Linked DNA regions of Homo sapiens: region 1 is linked to region 2. Evidence: promoter capture Hi-C in human tissues and cell types (Jung and others, 2019). All regions are on one chromosome and are shown on one strand. Each heading gives the region's core, a stretch centred on a gene start or on the middle of the fragment in contact. The rest is flanking DNA. Distances are from core to core; before and after follow the strand shown. Region 1 overlaps SEC16A (SEC16 homolog A, endoplasmic reticulum export factor). Region 2 holds the start of SNAPC4 (small nuclear RNA activating complex polypeptide 4).

Region 1 (6,143 bases), core at 726-3,225, 62 kb before region 2:
CTGCCACTGACCCACGGCCCTCTCCTCGTAGGCCTTGCTGCAGCACACGTCTGAGCAGGAGGAGATGCGGGCGTTCCCGGGACCCCTGGCCAAGTATGTTCCTTGTTGAGGCATTTCTTTGTGAGCCCGGCCTTGCAGACATCACTGCTCACTGTGTGTTCTTTCTGCAGAGACGACACCCATAAGGTGGATGTCATTAATTTTGCACAGAACAAAGCTATGAAATGTTTGCAGAATGAAAACTTAATTGACAAAGAGTCTGCAAGTCTTCTTTGGAATTTTATTGTTCTCTTATGCAGACAAAATGGGGTATGTTTCTTTCTACTTCTAGAGTGTTTCTTCTTGCTGGTCTTCATTTCGTCTTGGGAATGCTCAGCCTCCCGAAGGAGCAGGGCGGGATCCGCGTGGCCAGCTATGGGAGCCTCGAGGGCCCCCTTAGGAAGCACACTGTAGTGGCTGGGTAGGGAGGGAGAGGGAACGTGCGGTTGGGATGGGATGAGGTTTCAGCCCAGCCTTGCCAGCCTTTCGGGTAGTTGTGGGTCTGGCTGTGTCCAGGGTGGGGCTTTGTGCCTGTGGTGGTCCAACGCGTCCTCACCTGAGAGCCGTTGTTCTCCTTCCTGTTCCTGTTGACCCAAACAGACCGTGGTAGGGACCGACATTGCGGAGCTTCTGTTACGAGACCACAGAACAGTGTGGCTTCCTGGGAAGTCGCCCAATGAAGCAAACCTGATTGATTTCACGAATGAGGCAGTGGAGCAGGTGGAAGAGGAGGAGTCTGGTGAGGCCCAGCTCTCTTTCCTCACTGGTGGTCCGGCGGCTGCCGCCAGCTCGCTCGAGAGAGAGACCGAGAGGTTCAGGGAGCTGTTGCTGTATGGCCGTAAGAAGGTGCGCCTCCTCATCATGGCACCTGGCGCCTGCACATGTCCACTGGGTCGGGCCTGGTGCGGGGTTGCAGCCTTCAGGGAGGGACGTGGCCCCCTCTTGGGAGCATCCGCGCTGCAGTGTGGGGCTTCGGGTCTTGCTGTTTCCTGAACAATGCCTGACTCTTGTATGCCATCCTTCTGGAGGTGTTAATGTTGGTTTCCTTCTAACTGTTTCCAGTGTTGGAGACCTGCAGATTAAATTTTCAGTTATTCGATAAATGCACATGTTGAGCACAGGCCGTGCCCCTGCTGTGTGTGCCAAATCTCGGATGAAATGTGCATGACACAAGTTGTGGCATTCTCACAAAGTCAGACTCGAGTCCACAGCCCAGAAGTCATTGGGAGTTGGGAGGGCACACTGAACCTGTCAGAGGCGCAGTGCATGGAAAGGCCATGGGCAAGAGAGCAGCCAGTGCGTGTAGCGTCCAGTGACTGGGGTCACAGCAGCGTGGGGACTGGGGCAGGTGGGGGGCCTGAGACAGGAGCCTGCTCTGGGACAGTGGGGTTGGGGGGTCCATAGTGACTGCAGCAGTGACACTATGTGCACAGGAGGGGCTGTCTAGGGTGCATGATGTTTGCTTTGGATGTGCTAAGCAGGAGAGAGGCCAGTCTCAGAAGCATGTGTGGCCCTGAACAGCAGAGACATGGGATAGGCTGAGAGTTTTCTGTCCTTTTATATCATGATAAACTCAGAAAGGGCATATTTGACCAGTATTTTTATTTTTTTATTTTTAATTTTTTTTGAGACAGGGTCTCACTCTTGCCCAGGCTGGAGTGCAGTGGCGTGATCACAGCTTAATGTGGCCTCGACCTCCTGGGTTCAAGTGATCCTCCCATCTCAGCCTCCTGAGTAGCTGGGACTACAGCTGCATGCCACCACGCCTGGCTAACTTTTTTTTTTTTTTTGTAGAGACGGGGTTTCACCATGTTGCCAGGCTGGTCTCGAATTCCTGGGCTCAAGCAATCCGCCCACCTTGGCCTCCCAAAGTGCTGGGATTATAGGCATGAGCCACCGCGCCCGGCCTGATCAGTATGAGTCTATTATGGATGTTTTATAACTGATTGAAGTCATGTAACCTGTTAGCTTTTATTAACATCTTTCTCTACTGTAACGTTTTTGCCTCCCAGCCAGAAGTTCTAAATTATGCCCTGGATGATTTTGGTGAAAGGGGAGGCTGCCTTACTGGAGTCACTCTCCGTGTTGACAGGATATTCGCGGAGGCCTCCTGTTAGAACTGGGGAGTTGACTCGAGCGTGTTTCCCAGTGGATGGGGCGGCGTGGTGGGCAGCGCTGCGTGATTAGCCCTGTTTGTGATTAGCGTGCTTGTGTTTTATGCTGAAAATGGATAAAAGCAGCAAATATCTACAAATACCCACTACCACAGGGACTTTGAAACTCAGGAAAATAATGAATCGCTACGTGTCTTTAGTCTCCAAATGGTGAATAAGTGTGTTTTTGAGGCCTTTGGGTTGTTTGTGTATCTGCTGCTGCGTGAGGACACATGGCCTGTCTTGACTCATGTCACGTGAGCGCCGCCGATAACCCACCAAGGTCCCTGAAATGCCTTTTGCAGGATGCTTTGGAGTCTGCAATGAAGAATGGCCTGTGGGGTCACGCTCTGCTACTTGCAAGTAAGATGGACAGCCGGACACACGCCCGAGTCATGACCAGGTACAGTCCCACAGTGGCCTGGTCCAGTGGCGAGCCCTGCTGGCTCCCTGTAGCACGCGGCGTCCGCACCCTGGGGGCAGGCGGCAGGCGGATCTCACTTGACTGTGCTGTGCTCCCACACGAACTCGGGCTTCCTTGGCCTCGAGGCTTCCTTGGGTCGTGTTGTGGAGAGCTTAAAAAGTTTTTAATTAACTGCATGGTTTTTAGTACTTCATGTAAAATCTCAGTGAATTCCTCAGTCTTCATCTTTTATAGCTTTTTTTAAATTTTGAGTTTTGCTCTGTTGCCCAGGCTGAAGTGCAGGGGCGCGATCTCAGCTCACCGCAACCCCTGCCTCCCAGGTTCAAGTGATCCTCACGCCTTGGCCTCCCAAGTAGTTGAGACCACAGGCACCCACCACCACACCCAGCTAATTTTTTGTATTTTTAGTAGAGGTGGGTTTTGCCATGTTGGCCAGGCCGGTCTCAAAACTCCTAGCCTCAAGGGATCTGCCCGCCTTGGCCTTCTGAAAGTGCTGGGATTACAGGCGTGAGCCACCATACCTGGCCTTATCTTTTACAGCTTTTTTTTTTTTTTTAATATTGAGATAAGAAAGAAAAATAAAATATTGAGATGTGTGTACTTTGCCTAAGTGAAATATAAGTCTAATCATTACATCAGAGGGCTTAGGGCTGATTTTTTAAAAAATTTATTTTATTACTATTTTATTTATTTATTTTTTTGAGACAGAGTCTTGCTCTGTCACCCAGGCTAGAGTGCAGTGGCACGATCCCAGCTCACTGCAACCTCTGCCTCCTGGGTTCAAGCGATTCTCCTGCCTCAGTCTCCTGAGTAGCTGGGATTATAGGTGTGCACCACCACACCCGGCTAATTTTTGTATTTTTAGTAGAGATGGGGTTTCTCCATGTTAGTCTCTTAACTTCTGACCTCAGGTGATCCGCCCACTTTGGCCTCCCAAAGTGCTGGGATTACAGGCGTGAGCCATCATGTCCGGCCGGCTTTTTTCTTTTAGCTGAGCCAGCATGGGGTCTTTCTGTGTTTATGTCTGCCTAGGTTTGCTAACAGCCTCCCAATCAACGACCCTCTGCAGACAGTCTACCAGCTCATGTCCGGACGGATGCCTGCCGCGTCCACGGTGAGTGGCACTGCCTGGTGGCTTGCACAGGCTCCACTGCCTGTGTGGAGTTTGCTCGTGGGTGACGCTGTCACAGGCCGTGAGGTGCCTGGTGAGCCCAGCTGTGTGGAATTGAAATGGCGCTGGCTTCCGGGGATGAGGCTTCGTTTTGTTTTTCCTCATGTTAGTGCTGTGGAGACGAGAAATGGGGAGATTGGAGGCCGCACCTCGCCATGGTCTTGTCCAACTTGAACAACAACATGGACGTCGAGTCCAGGACGATGGCTACCATGGGCGACACTCTGGGTAGGTCAGGGGTGGAGATGGGCATTGGGTGTCGCGGATGGAGCGCCGAAGGCCCGGTTGTCTGTGGCGTTGGCAGAAATCACCAGAACCCGGCCTTCTCGGTCCGGCTGGCGTCTCTGGTGCCTTCTGTGCGCGTCCTTGACTTCTGCAAGCGCTCCCGGTCGCTGAGCCCCCGCCGTGTGTCGTGTCGTCTCTCCGCAGCTTCAAGGGGCCTCTTGGATGCGGCCCACTTCTGCTACCTCATGGCCCAGGCGGGATTTGGTGTTTACACGAAGAAAACTACAAAGCTTGTCTTAATCGGATCCAATCACAGGTAAAGAACCAAGTCAGTGTAGTCCTGTAAGTTTTCCTTTCAAAGTAAAACAAAATCCTTCTCCTTTAGTGAATTCAGAAATGGCCAGAATCATGTCTTTATTTGTCACGTGGTGGGACACACTTCTGGATGATTTGCTCCAAGGTTGACTATGCCAATAATTGGCCATTTTTTCCAAATCAAAATAATTCACTTCCTCTACAGTTTGCCATTCTTAAAGTTCGCAACCAACGAAGCAATCCAGAGGACGGAAGCCTATGAGTACGCCCAGTCCCTGGGTGCCGAGACCTGCCCCCTGCCTAGTTTCCAGGTAAGCAGGTGCTGCCAGCCTGCAGCTGTCATGGCTGGGCAGGCACTCAGTGCTAACAAGCTTTTGGCTACTTAGATTGTTTGAATTGGTATCGAAAAAAATGATGTGAGTTTTTTGGGGGAGGATCTTGAGAAGACATTTGATCTAAAATGCTAAGAAACAAGATCCCATTGAATTGAGGCTTTCCGTTTGCATTTGATTTCAATTATTTTCATGAGCTTTTTTTTTAAGGGAGACAGGGTCTCACTCTGTTGCCCAGGCTGGAGTGCACTGTTTTGATCACTCCCAGGCTCAAGTGATTCACCTCAGCCTCCAGAGTAGCTGGGACTACAAGCAGCACTACCATGCCACACTAATTTTTTTTATTTTTTGTAGAAAAAAACTGTGTTGCCCAGACTGATCCTAAACTCCTGGGCTCAAGCAGTCATCCTCTCAGCCTCCCAGAGTGTTGGGATTACAGGCGTGAGCCACCGCACCTAGCCTGTATGAGCTTTTTTTTTTTTTTTGAGACCGAGTCTCGCTCTGTCACCCAGACTAGAGTGCAGTGGCACGATCTCCGCTCACTGCAAGCTCTGCTTTCTGAGTTCACGCCATTCTCCTTCCTCAGCCTCCCGAGTAGCTGGGACTACAGGCACCCACGACCACGCCCGGCTAATTTTTTGTATTTTTAGTAGAGATGGGGTTTCACCGTGTTAGCCAGGATGGTCTTGATCTCCTGACCTTGTGATCTGCCCACCTCAGCCTCCCAAAGTGTTGGGATGACAGGCGTGAGCCACCGCGCCCAGCCGTACGAGCTATTTTTAATATTTGAGGGCGGTATTCTCTGATGCAGTGTGGGGGTGGTGTCTATAAAACATACATGAGAGGCTGAGCATGGCGGCTCATGCCTGTAATCCCAGCACTTTAGGAGGCCAAGGTGGGTGGATTACCTAAGCTCAGGAATTAGAGACCAGCCTGGGCAACATAATAACACCCTGTCTCTACAAAAAAAAAAAAAAAAAAATACAAAAATTAGCCAGGCGTGGCAGCATGCACCTGTGTTCCCAGCCACTCGGAGGCTGAGGTGGGAGGACTGCTTGAGCCCAGGAGATTGAGGCTGCAGTGAGCTGTGATTGTGCCACTGCACTCCAGACTGGGTGACAAAGTGAGACCCTGTCAAAAAAAATAAAAAAGAATGAAGTATCTAGAGAATGTCTGTGGAGCAGCTTAAGCTACACGGAAGGCAGTGGTCTCAGTGCCGTGCTCTTGGGGCGTTGTGACTGTGAGAGCCGAGTGGCCCCATGAAAGGGGTTGGGGGGAAAGCAGAGTGAGTTTGCTACCAGCTTAGTCGTTTACTTTGCTCTTGAAATCCCTTGGGGAACAGGGACTAGGACTGTGGTCAGCGGGCGTGGTGGGTGGGAGACGATGATGAGTGAAGTGTCCAGAAGAGTTCACAGCTCACAGGGCGATGCTCGGATGCAGGGGAGCCTCAGGGCAGTACAAGGCTTTGTCCATCGGCGATGCTC
Region 2 (5,860 bases), core at 234-2,733:
TTTTTCAAACAAGGCGTCTGAATTGCTAGACCCCTAGCCTTAGCTACAGGTGAAGGCCAGAGCTTTCCAGCAGTCACTGTGGAGCGGTCCTGCTGCGTAGCCCTATGCGCCTCCTGCTCCTGCTGGTTGGTGAAAGCAGGCTCTGGATTCTGTTGGCAGAGCTGACTTGAGACAGGGTGCTGTGGTTGGGAAGTGCCGGAATGAGGTTCTGAGTGTATAGGCAGCTCTGGGAGCCCTGTAGCAGCAGGATGGGGGCATCTGGGGAGGATGCCTCAGGCCACAGGCCTTCCCTGAGGCCCTTTGGGAGAGACAGCATTTGATGGGGTGGGGGTCACAAAGGCCAGATCGCCAGGCGGGTCCCATCCACCAGATGCGTGTGAAGTGGGGTGGTCCCCTGGCCCTCATGCCAGCAGCTCATGGAGCAGGTGGGGCCCAGGGAAGCGCGGTGGGGATGGGCATGTGGGTTTTGCGCACCCCTCTCTTTTGATGTCTGTGTTTGAAGCGTTTGATAGTAAGAAGTTTAAAAATACAATTTGTGGCGCGGTATTTAGTGCCTGCCTTCTGCCTCCAGATTTCAAGCCCGATGCAGGGACTGAAACGAGGCGCTCGAGGAGCCCCCAGCCGCCTGGTTCCATCCCCTCCATCTGTTTCTTGCCAATCCCTAGCTCCCAGTTTGGCCTCACCTGGGCCTAGCCCTTTGCCACCAAAAGCCCACCTCCTAGGTAGGCAGGGCAAACCCTCTTTATAGTTCTCCAGCTGATGCCCCTAGCTCACCCCAGGCTGGAGTGGAGGCCCCCTCAACTGGCTGGGCCCAGGATGTCTTTGCAGCACCGATACTTAGAAGCTCTCAGGAGCCAGGAACTGTAGGCCCCTGCCCAGCTCCCGGCCGAGTTAGCCCTGGCACGTTCCTGAAGGAATGAATGCCCACTTAGGGGAGGGCCCCGGGGCAGCTCTCCAGGCCAGGAGACCCCAGAGGGTGTGCACAGGTGACCAGGGAAGCGAGTTTGTGTGGTGCGGGCCCCCACCCTCTGGCCTCAGTCTCCTGCACGTGCCTGGAGATCGGCCTGGCCTCGGCGATCCTGAGCATGCAGGGCAGGCTGGGGAAAAAGCCTTTCACGTAGACTTTCTCATCCGTTGCTTAACCAAACCCCAACATGTCCGTTAACAGAGGATGAAACAAGCACAGAGAGGTCCAGCGATGGCCGAAGGTCACAGCCAGTAAGGGCCGGTCTTCCGGATCGTGACCAGGTGGCCGGGTGCCTGTCCCTGTCTGTCCCCTGCCTTGAGGTCCCGCGTCCACCCGCGCCCCTCCAGAGCGCGCGGAGGCGGCCCCCAGGGCGGCCGCGCGAGGGCAGCATCGAGCCGTTCGCCTCTCTAGTCCCGGCAGGCCGCAGCGGCCGTCCCGGCGTGCCCCGCGCCTCAGGAGGCGGGACTTCCGGCGCGCGGCGCTCTTGTTCTGCAGCCGCCGGAAGCGTCGAGTCTGCAGTCGCCCGGGCGACGGCGGGGTCCGCGCGGCCAGGTAAGGTGTGCGCCCAGCAGGTGAGGCGCGGGTGGCGTCGGCAGCTTCAGGGCTCTCCCCGTGGAGGGGGCGCTGTCCCGAGGAGCGGATAGCCGAGGCCCGGGACGGGGGCGGGGCAGCGCCCAAAGTCGGGGAAACTGAGGCCCGGCGTGGCCCCCGTCCGGCCGAGCCTGGGCGCGCGGGGATTCTGGCCCTGGGAGCCCCTCGGCTGGGAGCGGGCTGCGGGCTCCGAGGAGGCTCCGGCGGGGCGGCCCCGGCTGCAGGGCGCCCGCGTGCGTCTCGGGGACTGCGCCGGCGATTCCGCGGTGGCCGAGCCTCGGAGGGGGTTTCCCCAGTTCACGCAGCGAGCAGGAGGCGGAACTGGGCCTGGGCCGGGTCTGTCTCCCAAGCCAGTGCCTAAACGCCCATCGTCCTGGCGCATCCTGGGGTTCCCTGGGCCCAGCCGAGTCTGGGTGGCGTCCCCGCAGCTGGGGCTGGAGGGACCGCCTGCTGCGCTCCGTCTTGGTGGGCAGCCCTCATGACCAGCCCTTGGGAGAGGGGTGCGGGGAGAGGGACAGCCCCTGATGTCAGTGGCTCAGCACGTGTGACTTTGACCTCCTTCCTGCTGATCATTGCTCACCTGAGCGACACGGGGAGGGGGAGGCAGCAGCCTCGTGTGAGGCTTCCAGAGGAAAGCGTCTCCGCCGGCCCGGAGGCGCTGAACCAGCCTGCGGTCGCTGCCAGCTCTGCCTCTGGCCGGCTGTTAACTGAGTTTACAGGTTCACAAGCATTTCGGGCATAAACAAGGGGCTTTGTGAAGGAGTGAGGGGACCTGGGCTGCTGATGCGGCTAACGGTGCTCGCGGGTGGATGCTTTGGTTTTGTTCCAGTTGGGCAGGGCCCCAGTCAGCCTCCAGCAGGGAGAGCCACGCCAAGGACGGGGGAGGGCGTTTCTCTTTGTTGTTGGGTGTTTTGGGCTCCCGGGTCTGTGCTAGTGATTCCTTTAGATTTTCTCTGCTAATGTTTCATTCTCCCACTCTCTCTCTAGCGTCCTTCTCCCTTCAGACTTCCTGGACCACAGTTCCTAAGAAAAAAGCTTGACAAACATTTGTTAGTGTCAGGCACTGCCACGTTCCAGGCGTTGTTCTGGATGTACAGAGAACAGCCAGCCTTCCCTTTGGGAGCTTCCTTCCCAACCATGCTGTTAGTGCCTGCCACCTGGGCAGTCTCAGTGTGTGTCTCTGTGAACGTTTCTCAAATGCCCTCTGTGGTCCGGCTCTGTGTCATGGGAGAGCAGGATGGCCAAAGTGGGTCACGGGCTGTGTCCTTGCCCTGTAGTGACTTTGCCACTGCACCCCACACCTTCTACGCTGGGTGGCCAGTTTCCATGTGGCTTGGTGTGGGAGCAGAGACGGGACAGTGGGGCCTGTCCTTGTTCATCCACTCCCTGCCTGTGCTGGTTGCAGCCTCAGAGCAGGCGGGAGATGTTCTTGGGGCTTAGGCTCCTGGCAGAGCACATAGCAGGAGTTTGTGGGGTCTGAGGTTCCTGTCCCAGGGTTCCCCGATTCTGTGCCTGGCCTATTAATCTTTCTCTGGGGAGCCCAGTGCCCACTGCCGAGCAGGCTCCTGCCATCCCCCATGGGCGGGTGTGTCTGAAGGAGAATGGGATCCCGGCACGGTCTTGGTTTCTAACATCTCGGGGTGTGTTTTGGAGGCAGGCGGGAGTCATGGATGTAGATGCTGAAAGAGAGAAGATAACACAGGAGATCAAGGAGCTGGAAAGGATTTTGGATCCCGGCTCCTCGGGCTCCCACGTGGAGATCTCAGAATCAAGTCTCGAGTCAGATTCTGAAGCAGGTAAGCCCCTTGTACCTAGCCTCCTGGGGTCCTGGTAAGAACAGCTGGTCTGCCTCCTGGGTTCCTCTCAGGCACATTAGGGAGTGATGGTAGCCGGGTGTGGTTTCTCAGGCCTGTAAACCCAGGGACTCCTGAGGCTGAGGTGAGAGCATTGTTTGATCCCAGGAGTTCATGTCCAGCCTGGACAACGCAGCAAGACCCTGTCTCTAAAAATAATAATAATAATAATAAACGATGGCTGGTGCTGCTTGGACCAGACCCAATTTTTTGCCAACACTGGTGTCTTTCTGTACTCCAGCCAGAGAGCTTCTGACAATTCCTCCTTTGCTAGCCCCTGAACCAGCTGGCTGTGTGTGTACACTGGGCTCTAGGCATCCCAGGGTCTGGGCCTGGCCTCCTTGGGCCTGTGCAGGGCTTCTGGAGTGGACCATCCTGGGAGGAGGGGGCAGGCCTGAACCTCACCAGATGGCAGTCTGGACAGTCCATGCCTGGATGGTCAACACAGCTCACACCCCTAGGATCTCTTCTTCTCACATGTGCCCCTCCCCACGTGCTCCCCACCCCAAGTGCTCTCCTCCCCACGTGCTCCCCACCCCACGTGCTCCCCACCCCACGTGCTCCCCTCCCCACGTGCTCCCCTCCCCACGTGCTCCCCTCCCCACGTGCTCCCCACCCCACGTGCTCCCCTCCCCATGTGCTCCCCACCCCATAGGCTCCCCACCCCACAGCCTCTCCTCCCAACATGCTCCCCTCCCCACATGCTCTCCTCCATGCTCCCTTTAGCTTCTGAGCCTACCCCAACCCCACCAGCTGCTGCCCTGACAGGAGACCCCCCCAGCCTTGCTTCCCACCTCTCCCAGACCCAGGGCCTGCCTCTGAGGCAACCTGCTATCTTTCTCCTGTGGTGAGGGCCTCTACATCCGTGCCTCCCATCTGACCGGCTAAGCTCCTGAAGGAGAGGTCCGTTTTCTGCTAAACTTTCCCTGTCTCTCCAGTAAAGATAGCTTGTGCCATCCAGTGAACCCTGTGTAGCTTTGTCCTGTGTGCCTGGAGGTCCCCAGTGTGTGGTCAGAGTTTTCTCTATCTGGCTAACCCGGCCTTGGTCCAGTGCCCACCCCGCTGTCAGGGAGGGAAGGTCCGCTCACCGCCAGCCTCAGCCTGAGGCGCTGTCACTACCTCACAACCCCAGGTCTGCCCAAGAAGCAGTGGTGAGCTGCGCCCCCACCCTGCCCAAGACGCTGGTTACCAACACGGTGTTGCTTGTGTTTCTGACAGATTCACTGCCTTCTGAGGACTTGGATCCTGCCGATCCCCCGATCTCGGTAACTGTTGGCCTGATCTGGCTGTGCCACTGGGTCAGGCCTGCCACCACCTTCCAAAGTAGCCTGGGAGGGGGCGTGGTTTGAACCCATATTGGTTTTTCTGCATTATAAAAATGATTCACGTTTGTTATAAAAAAATTAAAAAGCATTTGTCATTGAAATTGTCCCCAGAAATAACCACTGTTAACAGCTTGGTGATCACACCCCTTGGGTTTTTTCTGAGCTCATTGCTGTATGCCTCTGTCTCCTGTGTGGCATCTGTCACTTGCGGAAAGCTGTGAGTTGTGCACCTGCGTCCTGCCCCTCACAGCTCGCCTCTCTGTGCCTCAGATTCCTGTGGGGCAGCGGGGACGTTTACAGCACAAGTCAGTTAACACGAGCAGCTATACAGAAATTAGCTGGTGCAGTGGCACGTGGCTGTGGACGCAGCTACTTGGGTGGCTGAGGCAGGAGGATCACTTGAGCCCAGGAGGCCGAGGCTCCAGTGAGCTGTGATTGCACCACTGCACTCCAGCCTGGGTGATGGAGTGAGACCCTGTCTCAAAAAAAAGAAAAATACACAAGCACCCAAACAGCACCTGGCAACTGCTCTGTGAGGCCAGTGATTATTTTATTAGCTGCCTTTTGTTTACTTTGGAAAACGTTGGCGATTTGCTGCTTCCTTTTTCTGCAAAGTTAGTGGGTACTGAGTTTCCTCATGTTTGCGTGGCTGTGTGGTTCACCTTCTGTGAGTGAGCACCCTGCTGTAGCCTGTGGGCACCTCACCTCCCAGTGGGCATTTTCACTGCGTCCACTTCCTGGCTCTGCAGAGACTTTCCTCCCACACAGGCTTGCTCCCCGTGCTTTGCTGGTGATGCACACGACAGGGGCTCAGGACAGAGTTCAGGGTTCACAGGACGCCTGTGGTCCTGGAAAGCTGCCTGCTGCCTTGCAGCAGCCGCAGCCCTGGCGTGTTCCAGGTTGGAGGCTCTGCCTGCCGTGGATTAGGAAAGGCGCACACAGGCCGCCTTGAGAGTGACAGGCTCCACTCCCAAACTCAGACGCCCTCCCGCTGCCCACCAGGGTCACTTCCTGCTTCCACATTGGGTGTTGCTATGCCAGAGCTGCCTCGGTGTCCCAGAGGCCCAGCGATGGGCGACTGGCTGCCGAGGACAGGGGAGCATCCACGTCTCATCTCGTCACAT

Evidence for each region. The method cuts DNA at HindIII sites, captures the fragments that hold promoters and counts their contacts. A contact is called where the count stands out against the background at its distance.
Region 1: a fragment that was not itself captured here is called in contact with the fragment with the promoter of SNAPC4 in region 2 in 2 of the 25 tissues and cell types used here (H1 embryonic stem cells and pancreas).

Annotation. Positions count from the first base shown.
Region 1 is chr9:136,457,629-136,463,771 of GRCh38, reverse strand. It overlaps SEC16A (SEC16 homolog A, endoplasmic reticulum export factor), which reads left to right. Exons shown (of 32, transcript NM_014866.2): 10 at 32-93; 11 at 171-309; 12 at 640-885; 13 at 2,498-2,595; 14 at 3,649-3,730; 15 at 3,898-4,015; 16 at 4,217-4,328; 17 at 4,533-4,638. Among named protein-coding and RNA genes, the nearest start is that of INPP5E, 21 kb to the right of the region's middle. The HindIII fragment of the contact is 9,536 bases long and covers 1-6,143 here.
Region 2 is chr9:136,395,793-136,401,652 of GRCh38, reverse strand. SNAPC4 (small nuclear RNA activating complex polypeptide 4) reads left to right here and starts at 1,483. Exons shown (of 24, transcript NM_003086.4): 1 at 1,483-1,519; 2 at 3,216-3,354; 3 at 4,630-4,676. The coding sequence starts at 3,225. RefSeq lists silencers at 1,036-1,085, 1,236-1,445, 1,516-1,645, 1,716-1,825 and enhancers at 334-1,270, 3,000-4,199. The HindIII fragment of the contact is 18,374 bases long and covers 1-5,860 here.